Regions from separate parts of the Homo sapiens genome. Here region 1 is linked to region 2. Evidence: promoter capture Hi-C in 16 types of primary human blood cells and fetal thymus (Javierre and others, 2016). All regions are on one chromosome and are shown on one strand. Each heading gives the region's core, a stretch centred on a gene start or on the middle of the fragment in contact. The rest is flanking DNA. Distances are from core to core; before and after follow the strand shown.

Region 1 (5,026 bases), core at 1,081-3,580, 40 kb before region 2:
AAAGCTGTTGAGTAATTTTTGTCTTAAACTAATTTGGTAGGATGATTTATTTTTTGTTCTCCACTTACGTTTTAAATAAACTTTTTATTTAAGTGTAACATAAGGATAGAGCTCGATGAATTTTTGCTAACTGCATACATCTGTGTCACCAGCACCCCTGTCAGAACCAGACATTGCCAGCAACCCTAAAGCACCCTTCACATCCTTCTCCAGTCACTAGCCCCTGCCTGCCCAGCCAAGAGGAACTGCTGTGTGACTTCTAGCACCATAGATTAGCTTCCTTGTTTCTAAACTGTATGTAAATGAAATCATAAAATATACCCTCTTCTGTGCTTGGCTCCTTTCACTCTCTGTTGGTTTGTGACATTTATCTATGTCATTATCTTTCATGGCTATATGGAATTCTATTTTATTAACATCCTACCATTTATTATCCGGTCTACAGTTGGCTGACAGATGGGGTGATTTCAGTTTGTGGCTGTTAAGGACAACGCTGCAGTGCACAATCTTGGCATGTCTTTAGGTAAATATGCCTACTTACTTTTAGTTAGTATACACAATTTGTTGTCCAAGTCCAGACACTTCTGAGAGTGAAAGGGTATGCTATTAATAATTATACAGAGATAATGAGTGTAAGTCAGGACTGTCCCAGGCGAACTGGGATTATTTTAGGTAGCCTTAGTGAAACTTACAAATGCAGATGCTCCCATGTCTTTGAATTTTTCTTAAAATATTCATCTAGCAGATCATATGGAGAGCAGCTTTGTCATCTGAATAATGGCAGGATTAGACCCTTACATCCATCTCCCATTATACCTTAAGCCTGCATGCCTAGAGAGTAACTCTGTGTAGGGGTGTGTGTGTGTGTGTGTGTGTGTGTGTGTGTGTGTGTGTGTGCTTTCTAGCATATGTGTTGTGATATTTTAATCTCTTCATATATAGTAAAGGCCTGTCTGCGGCCCTTATTAGAGCTGCGAGTAGGTGGTGTTTGTGGTGGAGGTGGTGTGGTTTCTGTTCTGAGCAGCGCATGGTCCAAGAAGCCTTTTATCTGAGGTGCTCTCTGTAGATCTGATCTGACCTTTTCTGAGGGGTCCTACTCTCATAGCTCCCTGTGAAGATTTGGAGATGGTGGCTTAGGTTGGGGCTATTCACTCTTAAATTCAAGCTTAGGCTCTGAGAGTTAATGAGAAAGGAAAAAATGAGTCCCCAAACTCAGCACTGAATAACATGAAATCCCTGGAGTAGAGGGAAAGTTTGAGTGGAACCCCCACTCCCAAGATGCTAGGTAAGCACCGTTATCCAGGCTGTAAACAAAGACAGTGCAATTCCTTCCCTATAGAGACAGATCTTGGAGAAATTCCCAGGGGAAACTGTGTCTAATCAGGTCCCTGAGATCGTCAAGCAGCTTAAATTCCTCTGTGATATGACAGCTGGGGTTCTGGTCAAAATGAGAGTTCCTAGTTTTTTTTCCTGAAGTTGTCAAGACCACCTGGGAAAATCCACAAACAGAAACCATGGTCTATTCCTTGAGCACCTTGGAGCCTGGGGTCTGTAAAAGCTCTGATTCTCAGCACCAAGGGAGTCAAAAGAGGTAATACGCAAGGCTGTGTGCTTTCTGCACAAGCAGCACCATTTTCTCTTTCTGGCTAATGGAAAAAGAGATGGCGTAAGGCCCAGCACTGAGTGGGGCCCGGGAGAAGGAAGGTGAAGGTCCGAATCCTGTCTTTCCTGATGGTCTCTTTGAAACCCACAACCAAGGGCTCTGGGAAGTATGGATCCCGTCTCTGCTCTCAACACTGACCCTGAGGTGAGATGGAATGGAGGGTCTTCGAGGAGGCGGGTGGGATGTAAAGAGCCAGCAGGTAACACTCTTGGCTTTCTCTCCAGATGGAAATCCACTATCTAGTTGGGAGACGGAGGCAGAGAATGGGAGGGCATCCTGGTGACCTTGAGAGCTCTGGTCTCTCAGCTCTTGAGGCAGCGGCCCAGGTTGTACTCTTGGTTCTCAGGGTGTCTTTCTGAGAGTCCCTGGGCAGCCAATTCAGGTGTGTTGTCTCCCTCGTCATCTCTCAAGCAGAGACGGAATTCTTGCTGCCCATGGTAACAGATGCTAGCTTGAATTCATGATCGGCCCAGCAGAGCTGAGATCCTCTCACAGACACGTTGTTAATACCTCAGGGTGGGGAGGTGTGTAGATGAGGGAGGATGGAAGAGAGGGCATCTGCACACTGGCTGGTCCACTAGAGTCTTCTTCCCTTAGCCATGCTTGTGCCTGTCATGACTCTTTGTGTTTTGCCCTCTGCTTCCCCAGACAGCTCGCCAAGAGAGAATGACTCTGAGAAACAGCTCCTCAGTGACTGAGTTTATCCTTGTGGGATTATCAGAACAGCCAGAGCTCCAGCTCCCTCTTTTCCTTCTATTCTTAGGGATCTATGTGTTCACTGTGGTGGGCAACTTGGGCTTGATCACCTTAATTGGGATAAATCCTAGCCTTCACACCCCCATGTACTTTTTCCTCTTCAACTTGTCCTTTATAGATCTCTGTTATTCCTGTGTGTTTACCCCCAAAATGCTGAATGACTTTGTTTCAGAAAGTATCATCTCTTATGTGGGATGTATGACTCAGCTATTTTTCTTCTGTTTCTTTGTCAATTCTGAGTGCTATGTGTTGGTATCAATGGCCTATGATCGCTATGTGGCCATCTGCAACCCCCTGCTCTACATGGTCACCATGTCCCCAAGGGTCTGCTTTCTGCTGATGTTTGGTTCCTATGTGGTAGGGTTTGCTGGGGCCATGGCCCACACTGGAAGCATGCTGCGACTGACCTTCTGTGATTCCAACGTCATTGACCATTATCTGTGTGACGTTCTCCCCCTCTTGCAGCTCTCCTGCACCAGCACCCATGTCAGTGAGCTGGTATTTTTCATTGTTGTTGGAGTAATCACCATGCTATCCAGCATAAGCATCGTCATCTCTTACGCTTTGATACTCTCCAACATCCTCTGTATTCCTTCTGCAGAGGGCAGATCCAAAGCCTTTAGCACATGGGGCTCCCACATAATTGCTGTTGCTCTGTTTTTTGGGTCAGGGACATTCACCTACTTAACAACATCTTTTCCTGGCTCTATGAACCATGGCAGATTTGCCTCAGTCTTTTACACCAATGTGGTTCCCATGCTTAACCCTTCGATCTACAGTTTGAGGAATAAGGATGATAAACTTGCCCTGGGCAAAACCCTGAAGAGAGTGCTCTTCTAATGGGTCTCTTCATATCACTGGCAACCGATTCTCGGTAAGCATGATACTCAAGTGTCTTTCTATTTATAGGCGGAGGAATTTTAATATTTTTCCTCAAAGAGGGTCTCCTCTCCACTTTTAAAAATTGGAAATCTCTTTCCTATACTCTCCTTGAGGACTATATTATTTTGCAACAATTAAATTGGCTCACTGCCTGCAAGTTAGTGTCTATGAAATGCCTTTTGTTTACTGAACTCTGTATTAGGCCCAAGAGATGAGTAAGATGAGGCTCCATGCCTTCCATTCTTTTCTTGGTAGGCTAAATGGGTTTTTCTGAGCAAGAACGTTTCTGGCTGGAACAAGGGGCAGGTGGTGGTATAAAGGTTGAGGAGTGTTTTCTCTTTAGTTACATAAGCAGACTTATTAAAGATCAATGGTAGATACCTTGGTGCCAGTGCTAATATGATTATATATCCAGCTCTTCAGGAGGTTGCTTGGTCAGGAAGATCATAAACCCTCCTTTTCATATACATGTATGTACATAAAAGAAGCCCTCACACAAGAATTTTCTATGATCTGCTCTGTAAGGATAAATCAAATCCAAATCTTTTATTTCAAAGTTCTAAAGCTTCTGGGCCTTGGAATGGTAATCAGGGGTAAGTGATCCTGTGTAATTGGGCCAATTTCTTAGGCTCCGGAGACTCAGGCTGGAAGAAGAAACAAGGAAGAACTCCACGGATTTGCATGATCTGTAAAATGTGGCCTCTGCCTTGCTCTGGAGATACTAAGCACACTACTGGATTTTAGGAAGATTGCTTATTCTTTAAAGTGGATTTAGATTTTACAGTTCTGACAACGTGTGTGCATGTTTATATGTGTGTGTGTGTGTGTGTGTGTGTGTCTGTATGTGTATTACAGTTAATCAATATAGAATCGGAAAGAAAGAGGAGTCATATTACACGTCCCACTCTCAGGGAGTCTGGAAGGGATCTGGATTTTGAGTGCCAAAGACCACTCTGTATTACTCTGCTAAAGGTTCTGCTGTTCTACATTGAAGAGTTCAGTGCTCCAGCTCGTGGCCAGGAGACATTCTGAGGGAGAGCTGAGAGCAGGGCAGAGAAGCAACTGCAGCACAGGTCTGACCAACAGGAGACGTGAGACAAACTCTATCTATCTTCTCCAAATCTGCTAGAGGAAGATCTTTGGAGGAGAAAAACTCTGATACTTGGATTATGCTTTGATTATGATAATAATGACACTTAACAGTTACTGAACTTGCACCATGTGTTTGTGCACCATTTGAGGTACCTTAAATATATTAATTCATTCATTGGAATTGATTTAATACCTTACTCAACCACTGCTGGTCAGTCCTCTGGGCCTTGCTGAATCCCACCCTCCAGTGGACTGTCTGTGTCTAGGTCCATGGGGGTCTTGGGATATTAGAAAAGAATCAAGAATAAGGAAGGACAAAAGTAAATCTACTTTGATACGGATAAAGAAAAAAAAACAATTACCATTGGTATAAATGAGCGGGAACAAGAACTAAGTCAGGGCATAGGATATGAATGGAAAGGAACAATTATGTAATCAATGCATCAAAGTCCAAGAATAACTTTCCCTGCATTCACTCCATATTGGCACTGGGGTGAGTAGCCGTGAAAGTATGTTTGACTTAATGAGACACTGGCTTGGCTCTTTTGGAAAGAAGTTCCTTTTTGACTGAGGATCTTACATGACAAAAACTCAGAGAGACTTTTCTTGGCTCTTGTAAAGCCAAATAAGAGC
Region 2 (5,480 bases), core at 2,135-4,634:
AGGAAGAATCAATATCGTGAAAATGGCCATACTGCCCAAGGTGATTTATAGATTCAATGCCATCCCCATCAAGCTACCAACGACTTTCTTCACAGAATTGGAAAAAACTACTTTAAAGTTCACATGGAACCAAAAAAGAGCCCGCATCACCAAGTCAACCCTAAGCCAAAAGAACAAAGCTGGAGGCATCACGCTACCTGACTTCAAACTATACTACAAGGCTACAGTCACCAAAACAGCATGGTACGGGTACCAAAACAGAGATATAGATCAATGGAACAGAACAGAGCCCTCAGAAATAACGCCACATATCTACAACTATCTGATCTTTGACAAACCTGAGAAAAACAAGCAATGGGGAAAGGATTCCCTATTTAATAAATGGTGCTGGGAAAACTGGCTAGCCATATGTAGAAAGCTGAAACTGGATCCCTTCCTTACACCTTATACAAAAATTAATTCAAGATGGATTAAAGACTTAAATGTGAGACCTAAAACCATAAAAACCCTAGAAGAAAACCTAGGCATTACCATTCAGGACATAGGCATGGGCAAGGACTTCATGTCTAAAACACCAAAAGCAATGGCAAGAAAAGCCAAAATTGACAAATGAGATCTAATTAAACTAAAGAGCTTCTGCACAAGAAAAGAAACTACCATCAGAGTGAACAGGCAACCTACAACATGGGAGAAAATTTTCGCAACCTACTCATGTGACAAAGGGCTAATATCCAGAATCTACAATGAACTCAAACAAATTTACAAGAAAAAAACAAACAACCCCATCAAAAAGTGGGCAAAGGATATGAACAGACACTTCTCAAAAGAAGACATTTATGCAGCCAAAAAACACATGAAAAAATACTCACCATCACTGGCCATCAGAGAAATGCAAATCAAAACCACAATGAGATACCATCTCACACCAGTTAAAACGGCAATCATTAAAAAGTCAGGAAACAACAGGTGCTGGAGAGGATGTGGAGAAATAGGAACACTTTCACACTGTTGGTGGGACTGTAAACTAGTTCAACCCTTGTGGAAGTCAGTGTGGCCATTCCTCAGGGATCTAGAACTAGAAATACCATCTGACCTAGCCATCCCATTACTGGGTATATACCCAAAGGACTATAAATCATGCTGCTATAAAGACACATGCACACGTATGTTTACTGCGGCACTATTCACAATAGCAAAGACTTGGAACCAACCCAAATGTCCAACAATGATAGACTGGATTAAGAAAATGTGGCACGTGTACACCATGGAATACTACGCAGCCATAAAAAATGATGAGTTCATGTCCTTTGTAGGGACATGGATGAAATTGGAAATCATCATTCTCAGTAAACTATCGCAAGAACAAAAAACCAAACACCACGTATTCTCACTCATAGGTGGGAATTGAACAATGAGAACACATGGACACAGGAAGGGGAACATCACGCTCTGGGGACTGTTGTGGGGTGGGGGGAGGGGGGAGGGATAGCTTTAGGAGATATACCTAATGCTAAATGAGGAGTTAATGGGTGCAGCACACCAACATGGCACATGTATACATATGTAACTAACCTGCACATTGTGCACACGTACCCTGAAACTTAAAGTATAATAATAATAAAATAAAAAAATGAAGCAAATCAGAAGGGAAAAAAATAAATAAATATATAAAAATAAAAATGGTGTTCGCTCCCAGGGACAAAAAAAAAAGGTAGAATTAGAACAACTCCCAGATTTTGGAAATTAGACAGTAGATAAACAAGCAGTATCTGCACTGGCATTCTTACAACATCTGACCCTATGATAGAACTGGGAAAACCAAGAACACACCTGATTTACACACAGTCTCCAACATTCTCACAATTTCACGACAGCAGATATTTCTGGAAGAAGTGAGGATGGGGCAGAACAAATGGAATGCTTAAAAGTCTGTTTAAGAATTAATTAGAGGCCAGGCATGGTGGTTCATGCCTGTAATCCCAACACTTTTGGGAGGCTGAGGCAGGAGGGTTTCTTGAGACCAGGAGTTCAAGACCAGCCTGGGTAACATAGTGAGACCCCCTATCCCTACAAAAAATTAAAAAATTAGCCAGGTGTGGTGGCATGTGCCTGTAGTGCCAGCTACTTGGGAGGCTGAGGTGGGACGATCTATTGAGTCCTGGAGGTTGAGGCTGCAGTGAGCTGTGATTGCACCACTGCACTCATGCCTGGGTGACAGAGTAGGACCCTGTCTTTAAAAAAAAAAAAAAGAGAGAGAGAGAAAAAGAAAAAAAAGAAAGAATTCTGTATCCTGACTTAGGTTTTTGTTACATAAATAGGTACATAGGATTCAACTGCATAGATCTACACACACACACAGACACACACACACACACACACACACACACACACGCATGTTAAATTGCTGAATAAGGTCTGTAGTTTCTTTAACATTATTGAACCTATGTCAGTTTCCTGATTTTGCTATTGTCCTACAGTTGTGGAAGATGTCTCTGTGTGAGGAAGCTGGGTGAAGTGTCCAAGGGAATCTACATATACTTTTGCCACTTCTTGTGATTCTAATAATTTTAAAATAAAAAGGTAAAAAATATAGATGCCTTCTCACAAGCACAAATTCCTACCTACCGGGAAATTCTGAAGTCATACTGTCTTAAAATGAGGGCACATGATTAGTGATTTTTCTTACAGATTTGATTTTAACCTGTTAAAGGCAAAGACATGTTGAGTTAGAGCAACCCAAGATAATTAAATTTTGATGAAATAAAGGATCATTCTATGTTACACAAAATTTTATTTAAAAAATCTGAAATCAATTAAAAGTATCCTTTTCTTTATTCTTTTTCTTTTCTTTTTGCCTATAAAGTATGCAAAACTAAAAATGGATTATTTAAAAGGACTCACAATATTAAAAATGAGCATAGCAATAAACTTTACTAAATTATACATACATACTTGTTAAAGCTAACACTGCCGATAATTATAATTAGCAAAAATTCTGACAATCTTTATGTTTACATCTTTATACATGACAGCAGAGGCTCTTTCTCCTATGCCCTGTGGATTGTATAATCCCTGATGAAAAGTTTACATCTACAACAACAAGTTAGGCTGTAAACACAGGCATATAATTTCTTCCCTGCAGAGTGTGTCATGGTAGGGGAGGTCCTGAGAGAGACTTACTGTTGGTATGTAATCAGGTCTAAGAATTATGAGCCTTGAGCAAATGCCATGTCTCTATGACGGTGGACATGGTGGGTCTGGTGTGAAGTCTGATTTTCTAACAAACCCTCTTGGCAAATTTATAAATAGTTTGATCTACACCTCAGAATGATTCCCAGAACATTCAGATTCTGAGATCTATGCTCAATGCTTTTGCCAGGTAAGGGAGAAGAAGATTCTTTGACTACATGTGGTCAACGTAGATACCTTCACCACCAGTTCTACCTCCAGGGCAGTGGAGGTGAAACACATATCAATGGTCAGCACTGAGTTCTCTGAGTGGAAGGAAGGTGAGTTAATCAAGTTTCTATTTCTCTCTCCTGGATGTTGCTGAAAAATGGGGAAAAGTATTTATTCAATAGCAAGAAACTTAGTGGTATGGAGCTCTGACTCTCGGGCTTGCATTTTTCTCACACTGTTCTCTCTGTTGGCTTCATTCTCAGCCTGGTATCAGGATAGCAATAGCAGTTCCAAGTGACACATCCAGAACAGAGGAATGCCAGGAAAGGAGATTTGTCTCTTTATTAAAAATATATTGACATGTGCTATACATATAGAAGAGTTTAAGGGTCATAAAAATACCAGTTTGGTAAAATTTTACAAACTTAACAACTAATATAACTGTACCCAAATTAATTATGTTTCCCTTATGCCTTCCTACAAAGACCTGTGAAAGCACATTCAGCTTCCTTTCTTCATCCTCTGTCTAGCTAGGATGGAATAGAGGAGAATGTGTAGAAACACTTATGTGATTTGTATGTGGTGAATCATAAGGCCTCGACTACTAAGGGTCTTCTTTTATCACCCGGTGACTTCATGGATTCTTATAGTAAGGTATCTAGAAACCCTATAGGAGACCCCTGTCTAGGAAACAGAATATCAGTATGGTCTCCGCCCTAAAGGAATCCTCCCTTACCTGGTGGTCATCACAGGGAAATTGAAGTGTCTAGTAGAATAATGGAAACATAAGTAGAAACTAGGAAGTGAAGGGACAGATGGAAGTGAGGGAGATGAGACACATCCATATAACCCAAGCTCAACAGCAGGTAGGCCTGTGCCTCAGCTACTCCACCTCTGTGTCTTCTAGTAAGGACAGGAGCAATTGTTTGTCACATTCAGTCTGTACAGACAAAAGACACTGACTGAAATGTTGAGGAGTGGGAGTGGCAGTACATTCAGTACATTCAGATCCCATGAAACAAAGAACTCACCCAAATTCCTACAGCCTGAGTCCCCTCCTCATTAATGAGATTTTGTAAAAAGAAATCTGTGTTCCTAATAGAATTTTCTTTTGTCTTCCCAGATTTTTGAAGACAAAAAATGCTGGCTAGAAACAACTCCTTAGTGACTGAATTTATTCTTGCTGGATTAACAGATCATCCAGAGTTCCGGCAACCCCTCTTTTTCCTGTTTCTAGTGATCTACATTGTCACCATGGTAGGCAACCTTGGCTTGATCACTCTTTTCGGTCTAAATTCTCACCTCCACACACCAATGTACTATTTCCTCTTCAATCTCTCCTTCATTGATCTCTGTTACTCCTCTGTTTTCACTCCCAAAATGCTAATGAACTTTGTGTCAAAAAAGAATATTATCTCCAATGTTGGGTGCATGACTCGGCTGTTTTTCTTTCTCTTTTTCGTCATCTCTGAATGTTACATGTTGACTTCAATGGCATATGATCGCTATGTGGCCATCTGTAATCCATTGCTGTATAAGGTCACCATGTCCCATCAGGTCTGTTCTATGCTCACTTTTGCTGCTTACATAATGGGATTGGCTGGAGCCACGGCCCACACCGGGTGCATGCTTAGACTCACCTTCTGCAGTGCTAATATCATCAACCATTACTTGTGTGACATACTCCCCCTCCTCCAGCTTTCCTGCACCAGCACCTATGTCAACGAGGTGGTTGTTCTCATTGTTGTGGGTACTAATATCACGGTACCCAGTTGTACCATCCTCATTTCTTATGTTTTCATTGTCACTAGCATTCTTCATATCAAATCCACTCAAGGAAGATCAAAAGCCTTCAGTACTTGTAGCTCTCATGTCATTGCTCTGTCTCTGTTTTTTGGGTCAGCGGCATTCATGTATATTAAATATTCTTCTGGATCTATGGAGCAGGGAAAAGTTTCTTCTGTTTTCTACACTAATGTGGTGCCCATGCTCAATCCCCTCATCTACAGTTTGAGGAACAAGGATGTCAAAGTTGCACTGAGGAAAGCTCTGATTAAAATTCAGAGGAGAAATATATTCTA

Evidence for each region. Contacts are between HindIII fragments. The CHiCAGO score rates a contact against its expected background, and 5 or more counts as called.
Region 1: a contact is called between the fragment with the promoter of OR8B4 here and the fragment with the promoter of OR8B2 in region 2, in 1 of 17 cell types (neutrophils). The highest score is 7.1, in neutrophils.

The regions. Positions count from the first base shown.
Region 1 is chr11:124,422,175-124,427,200 of GRCh38, reverse strand. It overlaps OR8B4 (olfactory receptor family 8 subfamily B member 4), which reads left to right and starts at 2,330. Exons shown (of 1, transcript NM_001005196.1): 1 at 2,330-3,259. The coding sequence starts at 2,330. The coding sequence ends at 3,259. The HindIII fragment of the contact is 2,701 bases long and covers 1,168-3,868 here.
Region 2 is chr11:124,382,403-124,387,882 of GRCh38, reverse strand. It overlaps OR8B2 (olfactory receptor family 8 subfamily B member 2), which reads left to right and starts at 3,384. Exons shown (of 2, transcript NM_001005468.2): 1 at 3,384-3,509; 2 at 4,523-5,480. The coding sequence starts at 4,540. The HindIII fragment of the contact is 13,920 bases long and covers 1-5,480 here.